Linked DNA regions of Homo sapiens: region 1 is linked to region 2. Evidence: promoter capture Hi-C in 16 types of primary human blood cells and fetal thymus (Javierre and others, 2016). All regions are on one chromosome and are shown on one strand. Each heading gives the region's core, a stretch centred on a gene start or on the middle of the fragment in contact. The rest is flanking DNA. Distances are from core to core; before and after follow the strand shown.

The links. Contacts are between HindIII fragments. The CHiCAGO score rates a contact against its expected background, and 5 or more counts as called.
Region 1: a contact is called between a fragment that was not itself captured here and the fragment with the promoter of PIM1 in region 2, in 17 of 17 cell types (activated CD4 T cells, naive CD8 T cells, total CD8 T cells and 14 more). The highest score is 18.3, in activated CD4 T cells.

What each region holds. Positions count from the first base shown.
Region 1 is chr6:37,012,205-37,017,018 of GRCh38, reverse strand. FGD2 (FYVE, RhoGEF and PH domain containing 2) reads right to left here. Exons shown (of 16, transcript NM_173558.4): 5 at 3,254-3,410; 6 at 2,919-3,057; 7 at 2,315-2,373; 8 at 1,981-2,127; 9 at 1,159-1,251. Among named protein-coding and RNA genes, the nearest start is that of FGD2, 9.0 kb to the right of the region's middle. RefSeq lists enhancers at 2,501-3,218, 4,649-4,814. The HindIII fragment of the contact is 6,835 bases long and covers 1-4,814 here.
Region 2 is chr6:37,168,112-37,172,907 of GRCh38, reverse strand. It overlaps PIM1 (Pim-1 proto-oncogene, serine/threonine kinase), which reads right to left and starts at 2,756. Exons shown (of 6, transcript NM_002648.4): 1 at 2,251-2,756; 2 at 2,029-2,135; 3 at 1,877-1,927; 4 at 1,417-1,783. The coding sequence starts at 2,332. RefSeq lists silencers at 639-738, 1,928-2,247, 2,508-3,287 and enhancers at 398-991, 2,913-3,511. The HindIII fragment of the contact is 5,698 bases long and covers 1-4,462 here.

The DNA.
Region 1 (4,814 bases), core at 1,606-4,105, 160 kb after region 2:
GCGAAGACCACCTCTGGAAGGCCTCACAAGAAGCAAGGATTGCCTTCAGGAAGGGGAACTAGGGGATAGAGTCGGGCGGAGACTTTCATTGTATATATTTTTTATATTGTTTGACTTTAGAATGTGTATAATCTGTATTTTTTAAGTAGTAAAATTAAAATATTTTTAAAAGATAAAAAACAGGCTGGGTGTGGTGGCTCATGCCTGTAATCCCAGCACTTTAGGAGGCCAAGCCAGGTGAATCACTTGAGGTCAGGAGTTTGAGACCAGCCTGGGCAACATGGTGAAACCCCATCTCTCCTACCAAAAATACAAAAATTGGCCGGGCATGGGGGCTCGCGCCTACAGTCCCAGCTACTTGGGAGGCTGAGGCAGGAGAATTGCTCGAACCCAGGAGGTGGAGGTTGCAGTGAGCCGAGATTTTGCTGTTGCACTCCAGCCTGGGCAACAGAGTGAGACTCGGTCTCAAAAAAAAAAAAAAAAATCCAGAAGATTCTAACAGCCCCTGCATCATGGGGCTGTTAGGAGGATCTTGTGGTCCCCCCATGGGCTCCATCATGGACTACTGGCCCTGCTCATTTGCCATAATCTCTGGATGAGGTAGATGGGGACACACACAAGCCAGCCGCTGAGCTGACACTGGAGACCTTTCCTACTCAAAACGTGTTCTGTGCTCCTACAGTATCAGCATACACTGCCCAGGATATGTCTCATTTCATTTAATTCTCACAATCCTGCAGGTGGGGTCAGTTGTCAGCCCATCTTAACTGGGAGCTGGTTAGAAATGCAGGATCTCAGGCACCCCCCCACCCAGACCTCCTGATTCAGAACCTGCATTTTTACAAGATGCCCAGAGGATTCGCGCACACATGAAAGTTTTTGAAGCAGTGGTATAAACAGTAGGGAAAGCACAGAAAGGCCAAGCTGGCTCATGCACTGCCGCGAAGGGAGGGCCAAACCTGTGGGAAGCTGGGAAGGACAGGGCAGGAGGGCTAGGATCCCAGAGGGGAGAGCCCCACACTCTTCCATCTCCATGTTTGCCCAGGCCCTGCAAGGGTTTGGTTCTGTGATTGAGAACCTGGTTGGCCCCTCCTCTTACTCCCTGTACTCAGTCCTACCCTTGAGGTGGAGCCCAGTGGTGTTTAGGGGGCCTCTTACCTTCATCCCGGCCACATCGATGCGGGTCCTCACCTGGAACTGGGCGCCCACCTGGATCACCCTGGGCACACAGTAGAGCAGCATGTTGTTGAACTGCAGGAGACACAGGCGTGAGTGGCCCGTGGCAGGGGCAGGGAGGATGGCTAGGTGGGGTTTCCCCGAGGGTGGGCCGAGCATGGGCTGAGCACCACTGGACCCGCTCCCCTTTGAACACACTCTGGCCAGCCTGCTCACAGGACATCACAGGTGATGATGTAGGTGATGAGGAAGGGGCTGTCAAGCTCCCAATTCCCCTAGGATGGTTACTGAAGGGTCACCCTACAAGGGACCATAGCAGACCTCAGAAACCTACAAGGCCTTTCTCAACAGGGGCTCAGGATGGCAGGGGTTTACAAGAGGTTATATCTCTGTTCCCCAGACCTCCAGGCAGGACCACCTTTCCAGGTGTCAGGAGATCCCCCGGCTTCTTCCGTGCAAACCCAGGGCAGTTCTTCCTAGTAGCTAACCTTACTCCTTCCTGCTGTGCGCTCTCTAGAGCACAGATTAATATCACAGGCTTTGCAGTCAGACTGGGTTCAAACTCTGACTCTGTTGCTTCCTAGGACATGTCTGGGAAACCTGTGGGTTGGAAATCTCTGAGGCTTAGAGGCAGCAGGTGACCTGTCCAAAGTCATCTGGGTGCCAAAGCAGAAAAAGACAGAGAAGCGTTCTCTTCCCTGTCCCCCTGCAGTGCCAGGTAGAGGCCAGGCAGTATGACTCGGGCCAGAGTGGCCCATGGACTTCCCTCCCCAGTGTGGAGAGGAGCTCCCAGCACCCTCTTACCAAGAAAAGGTAGCGCTCCATGGGGTCGTTGCGGCGGAAGGAGATCTTGAGGACCGGGCCCTCACGGAGCAGGGTGTTAGAGGGGTCTACTATGTCGTCCTCGAGGCCCAGGCGCTGGTACACCTCCCACAGGTCCTGCAGCCGCTCCTAGGGGGTTGGGGTGCATCCTCAGCCAAGTCTGGGCAGGGCTCACCTGCTTCTGGAAGGCTTGCCTTGTGGGGACGGGGACTGGGGGGTAACAGTGAGGGCAGCAGTGGGATAGGTGTCATGGGTGGGACCAGGCTGAGACCTGCAGGGAGGGGGACAGGGCTCCAGGAGAGGGCGGGCTGCTTACCATCTCAGTGATGGCTGCATTGGAGTGCTGGGCAGCTGAGAAGATCATGTCCAGGGCTTCTGAAAGGGGCAGGGCCGGAGTTTATTCCCTGAGAATCTAGGGCTGGTGGCTGGGGCAGGAGGTCCTTGAAGTTCAACAAAGGGCCCTCAGGACCTGCCATGACAGCCCCCAGGAGCAGCCCTGCCTGTGCAGCCCAGCCATGGGGTGTCTGAATGGCGGGAGCCCCCCAGGGCTGAGAGACTGGAAGCCACTGAACGTTAGCCATTAGGTGTTTGGCTTTGGTGACTCTCACTGCTTCCCAAAACAAGCCAGACCTAGAGGGTATAATGGAAGGAGCATGGGCTTTGGTATCACATAGGCATGGGTTCAAATCCCAGTTCTGCTACTCTCTGGCTGCGTGACCTTGAGCAAGTCACTAAACCTCTCTGGGCCTTAGTGTCCTCATCTGTGAAAAATGGCTAATGGTATGGATGATGTCTATGAAGTGCCAGTGGTTGATGTTGATGACTGATGGTCGTCAAAACCATTTTAGCAGGAGCTCAGTAAGTATATGGGAATGGCTTAGGCCTCCTCAGCCCCCTGGGACCCCTGGGGGTGTCCTCACTCTGGGCATCGGCCTGGTCTGGGGCCTGGGCTGGCAGCTTCTGGATGTACTCCTTGAGCAGCAGCTCGTAACGTGGAATTCTCTGCACTGGTTCCAGCATGTGGTGCTGCAGGGTCAGGCTGCCCGAAGCCTCGCTGCTCTTGGGGAGGGATGGGGGAGCAACACGGAGAGGGTGAGAGAAGGGAGGTGGGTCAGGCTGCTCCTGAGGGCCGGACGAGTAGGCAGGGGCCTATGGAAGCAGCTGAGCCTGGGAGATGCCCGGAATCACTCAAGGCAACCTGAGCCACTGCATGCTGGGAGTGGCAATGCTGACTCCAGCCCTCCCCCAGCCTCACCTGGATGCGAGTGAGAACCTCCTGGAAGAGTGGAGACTTGTCGGTCCAGGTGGCCAGCAGCTCAGCCGCTCGCTCAAAGTTCTTGACATACTCACTGTACATCTTCAGGAAGGGGGCCAGCTTCTGGATCACGTCACCGATGCGGGGGTTAGCTGTCCTGCAGGAGGGGCACAGGGATTGCCCTCAGCCTAGAGACCTCCTCTCGACTCTAGATAGGGCCAGGTGAGGCCAGGCTCCCTGAATCCCCCAAAGCAAACTTTCCACGGCAATTCTGGGTGTGGGCGGGGTACGGGGGTGTCATCCTCACATGCGCCCCTCTACTCCTTAGACTGTGAGCCTCCTGAGGCCAAAGGCTGTTCTGGTCCCAGGTTGGCCTCATCCACAAGGCCCGGCACAGTGTTGGGCCCACAGCAGGTGTTCAGTAACTGCTCAGTGCTTCATTATGTAACAATAACGAGGGCTACCTACCAAGCACTACCCAGGACATGATGCATGTCTCATTCCATGTAATTCTCACAACCCTGTAGGTGGGGGCAGCCACTAGCCCATCATAGAGGTGAGGAAGTGGAGGCTCAGAGGGGTACGAACTTCTCCAGGATTGGCCAGCCACAGTGGCTTACACCTGTACTCGCAGCACTCTGCAAGGCCTGAGGCAGGCAGGCAGGTTGAGCCCAGGAGTTCAAGACCAGCCTGAGCAGCATGGTGAAACCTCATTCCATGCCCCTCACACTGAAAAAAAATAATATATATACATATATATACACGTATATATATGTATACACACACACACACACACACACACAGAACTTTTCCAGGATCATCCCATGGCAGGGCCTGCTAGAGCAGAGCAGCAGGGAGCCATGGCCATGGCCTGGGAGTGAGGCTTCCTGAGCCTGACTCCTGGGATGCACAAATCATGCTAGCTGTGTTCCCAGGTAAGTCACTTAGCATCTTTGTACCCTGATTTTCTCATTGAAAAAAATTGGAATGATGGCAGGCGATCTCATAGGGTTATATCCTTCTCTTTTCTTTTCTTTCTTTTTTTTTTTTTTTTAAGTCAGGGTCTCTCTCTGTCACCCAGGCTGGAGTGCAGTGGCACAATCATGGCTCACTGCAGCCTCGACTTTCCGGGCTCCAGCAATCCTCCAACCTCAGCCTCCTGAGTAGCTGGGACTACAGGTGCCTGCTACCATGCCCGGCTAAGTTTTGTATTTTTGGTAGAGATGGGGTTTTACCATGTTGCCCAGAGTGGTCTCAAACTCTTAAGCTCAAGTGATCCACCCACCTTGGCCTCCCAAAGTGCTGGGATTACAGGCATGAGCCACCGAACCTGGCTATTATTATCTTAAAAAAAAACAACAGTTTATTATAAATGTTTTAAGCAATCAATACATCACTAGGTTTAACAATTACTAGCATTCTTCTTTGCCAAAGATCTTAAAGGACATCCTAGACTTCGTGGCAAACTATATAAGGCAAGTAACTTCACTGTTAAATGCTTTAGTGGCCATCTGTGAAAACAAGAGGGTTTCTTGCATAACCATGATGCCGTCATCACACA
Region 2 (4,796 bases), core at 1,507-4,006:
AAAAAAAAAAAAATCCCTTCTCTCAGGAGCTAGGTGAACTCCATTTTTCCCTCTGGGCTAAGGAGAGTGGAGGCGCACCTTACGGCATCTCTCCAACCCAAAGCATTACCCACCTCTCTGCTAGCCCAAACCATAAACTGAAATTCTTTATGAACTGCTCCAAGAAACAAACACAGCTGGCCGCAGACCCAAAACTTGAGGCCCTGTGAGGCAGGACCGCCTGCGAAGGATGAAGGGATGCATGTCTGCACAACCAAGAAAGGTATCTCATAGACTATCCTTAAATTGCATTCACCACTGCCCAGGAGCCCGGGTGAGATTCTCATGGCCGACAGGATCCAAGCAAGGATGCTTGCACAACATCCTAAGTCAGGGTGCCCTTTGGGAGGCCTTCCTCCCCACCCGATGCAAGCAGGAGCAGACACCCACACCCTTTCCTCCCTAGACTGGAAAGGTAGACAGAGCTGCAGGGTTGGTTTCAGACCACGTGATTCCTGTTTACAAACTTTGGGTAGTAAAAGAAAAAGGAGGGGCCATGCCGCTGGTGCTCACCAGGGGGCAGCAAAGACTTGAAAGAAAAAACATGGGAGGACCCGGCCAGCCATTAACTGTTAAATACAAAAAATGCAGCCCAACCCAGCGTCCTCCAAGGGCAAATAAACATAAACCACAAGCCCGAGTCACAAGTTTTGAAAGGCTGTCGTTTGTTAGGTTAAGCCGCTCAGATGATGACCCACCCTCCGCAGCTTTGATCTCAGGCTCTCCATTCCTTCTTTTCTGAAAGAACCCGCTCCAAGCCCCTCCCTAGGATAGGTTTTCATCCTCTCTGCGGAGACACCCAACTAATTTTCAAACCAGCGACAGATCTTATTTCACAACATTCATTCCTGACTCTCTCTCCCCTTAACACTAAAGAAAAAAAAAAGCCACCAGTAATAATATAGTTCCTATTCCTTAACCTTCCCTAGATCAGAAAGGAGTTAAGAACTGCAGCTCTAAAACTACCATACAGAAAACTAACTCCCTTATAAAATAAAACAAAAATTACAAAACCGGCATCAATTTCCACCTCTTCCCCCGCCCCCATCCTTTTACTGGCGGGGAAACTGGGTCAGACTTTAGAAAAATCTGGGCTACCGCCGGTTGCCCACAACCTCTTATTCATCGGGAAAGCCTGGAACTAACTGAATTCCACTTGAAGAATAAAATCATGCCAGAAACATTACAGGTTCAGCTGGCTGAAAATCCCCGGCTTTACTACGCTGGGAGGCTCTCCTGCGTCCCACCCCGGCTAGCATCGAGCCAGGCGGCCCAATGACCTTTACAAAAGGCTGGCGCGGGAGACTGGCCGAGGCCTCCGGACTGGGCCGGGCCGGGCCGAGTCACCTGGGCAGCTCCCTCCCGGGCCTGGCTCACCATCGAAGTCCGTGTAGACGGTGTCCTTGAGCAGCGCCCCCGACCCGAAGTCGATGAGCTTGAGCTCGCCGCGATTGAGGTCGATAAGGATGTTTTCGTCCTTGATGTCGCGGTGGAGCACCCCGCAGTTGTGGCAGTGCCGCACGGCCTCCAGCACCTGCCAGAAGAAGCTGCGGGCCAGCTCCTCTTGCAGGGCTCCCCTTTCCGTGATGAAGTCGAAGAGATCTTGCACCGGCTCGGGCCTCTCCAGGATCAGGACGAAACTGTCGGGCCTCTCGAACCAGTCCAGGAGCCTAATGACGCCGGAGAAACCCGAGCTCACCTTCTTCAGCAGGACCACTTCCATGGGCACTCGAGTGCCATTAGGCTGCAGGGGCGAGGGGGCCGCGTTAGGGCGGGAGTCGGGGGCGCCCCTCACCCCACCCACTCATCCTGGGGGTCGCTCCTGCAGGGCACTCACCAGCTCTCCCCAGTCGGAAATCCGGTCCTTCTCCACGTGTTTGATGGCCACCTGGAAGCCCAGGGTCTCCGTCAGGTTCCCTCGTCCGGGCTAAAGCACGCCCGTGCGCCCCCCGCCCGGCGCGCCCTCCCCACCGCGGGGCGCCCACTCACCGGCAAGTTGTCGGAGACGCGGATGCCTGAGTAGACCGAGCCGAAGCCGCCGCTGCCCAGTAGCGGGCCCACCTGGTACTGCGACTCCAGGGGCTCCTTCTCCTTGCCTAGGAAAGGGGGAAGCACGGGGACTCAGTGCCGGCCCGCGAGCCGCCAGCTCCCCACCCAGGAGATCCCGCCGCCGCCCCGCATCCCCGGGCCGGAGGCGGGGGGTGCTCTCACCGGGCGCCAGCTTGGTGGCGTGCAGGTCGTTGCAGGGCGCGGCGCGCAGGTGGGCAAGCGAGTTGATTTTGGACAAGAGCATCCCAACCTCCAGGATGTCGGCGCAGGGACGGTGCCCAGAGGAGCTGCCGCAGGAGCCGGAGCCGGGGCTGTGCCGAAGGCTATGCCTGGGGCTGTGGCTGTGGCTGTGGCTGCGGGTGGCGTTGCGGCTGTGGCTGCGGCTGGCGCGGAAGGCCGAGGGCGAGTCGGAGGACAACTGAGGGCGCTGCCGGGACTGGCGGCGGGAGGGCGCGCCAGCGGGGTCGGGCAGCGCTGAGAACGGCGGGGTGAGCGGCTCGTGGGGCTCGTGCGGCAGCGCCGCGGGGCAGGAGGCTAGTGGTTGCTGCTGCTGCTGCTGCTGCTGCTGCTGCCGGTCCCGCCGCCGCCGCTGCCACCGACTCCTCTCGGGCCTCCTCAGCCACCGCGGCCGCTGCAGCAGACGCCCGGCTCGCCCCGCAGCCAGGAGTAAAGGGGAGGAGCGCGCCGGCGGGGAGGGCGCGCGGGGAGGGCGCGGCGGGCGGGGACGGGGCGGGGCCTCTCCGGGAGGCCAAGGCGGGGAGCAGGGCTGCCGGGCCGGCCGAGGGAGGAGAGGGGGTGGGGAAGCGGCGGGACTGGGCGACTCCCCTCGGCCCCCGCCCCGCGCGCTCTGTGGCCGCGCCCCGGCCCCGCCCCTGCCAGCGCTACTCCAGCCAACCAGAGGCCGATTGATCTGCATAACTCGGCGCGCCCCGCCCCCGCCCCGCCCAGCTCTCGCGGTCAGAATGGTCTCTACGCCGCCACGACGTGGCGGGAAGGAAAAGGCGCCAAAATGGAGGGGGAGGGGCGCGGGGCGTGAGGGGAGGCGGGAGCTGGGTGTAGGGCCGCGAGGGAGGAAGGATGGGGAGGGGCGTATCGATTCAAACCCAAACAATAACAAAGCCATCAAAGGCCGCCCGAGGCCGGCTCTGCGGCTCTCCGTTTCGCTGAGGGTTTTGGGTCAAGGGCTCGAGCCGGAGCATAACAAGTTGCGCGGAGACGACGGGCGTTAGTGTGTCAGGCGGGGAGGCCGGCGCGCCGGGTGTCGGACTGTGTGTGGGGATGCCGACGAGGGTGGTCTTTCTGTGTGACTCAGACCCGAGACCTCCAAGTCGGCTGGGGCGGGCTGACGTCGCGCTGTAGGCTGGGGGCGGATTCTGGGGGTTTGTGTGTTGGGGGGCGCGTCGGGGGCGAAGGATCCGCAGGACATGAGTCACGGAGGGAGTGGAGGAGTCAGGCCTGGAACAGAACTGGAGGCGGGAGCCCCGCTCCTGCGGGAAAGGGATGCAGCCCTCAGTCGTTCCGGCCGGCTAAAAGCTCAGCCACGGGATTCCCATTTTAGAAATGCAAAAGCACCAGCGAATCCTGATTTCTGGGAAGGGATGTGTGTCAAAGGGCCGGGTAAAGAGGAAATCACGAAGCAAATGTTAGTGTTGTGATGCCAGATGCTGCCTCAGCCCCTTCTGTGAGGGCGGAAAATTCCTCATCTAAAACGAGGGTGGGAGGGTGCGCTTGATTTAACCAGTTTTCACGTTGTAGTCACCTTTTCATCAGCCTGTTATTACCAGGCAGGCAATACCAGCAATTATTGGCCAACCCCAAGTCTTGTCTCAAAGGAAACCCCCCACCCTCTGCCTCCCTTGGAAATAACCCGGAACACTGACCAATTCCACTTGCATCCTTTGTCCTTTTAAACTTCATGTAGAGTTGATAACGACGTGTGAAATGAGTAAATTAAAATACTATATAATCCATAAATTGAATTGTCAGTGGCCTAAGTAATTGAAAGCTAACTACATTCTATTTTAATTTTTTGAAGTGCCTGCCATTTAAAGGAAAAATCAGGATCCCTATAGCTGTCATTAGTGAATTTAAATGTTTCCTTTGAAAGTTTTCTACAGTGCTTGCTTTATAAAAGTGCCCAGATCCTCCACAACTTTTATGAATTTATCCTACAAAATATTACATATTTTCCTTTTGTTTGTGTACTGTGGCCGAACTCATTCATTTTTTATGACTAGGAGAAAACCCAAGGGAACAAGAATTACTCCCTTTTTGCAGATAGGAAAATGAAACATAAATAGGATGGCACAGGGTCATACAGCAGCTAAGAGAGGAGATGAAATGACCCAAATTCACCTCCTGAGTATTCAAAGCTTTCCGCTTATCAGGGTCTAAAACTGTCCTTGGCACCGAACAAGACATCATTAAACATATGTGATTCCCACTTCCATCCCTTCTACCCTCCCTTTCCTTTCTCAAACCCTCAAATGTAGTCAAACAGAACTATTCCCACTTGTTCCCACTCGCCTAGCACTTTACAGACCCTTTGCCTTTGCGGAAGCAATCAACCTGTCCTGGGAGAGCCCTCTCTACCTCTCCACTTTTATTCAAAGCCTTTCCACTCTTTAGGAAACAATTGTAGTTCTACCACAGATTGATGAACAAACTCAGAGCATTGGTTCACTGTCCACTAATCTGACAGTTGGGAT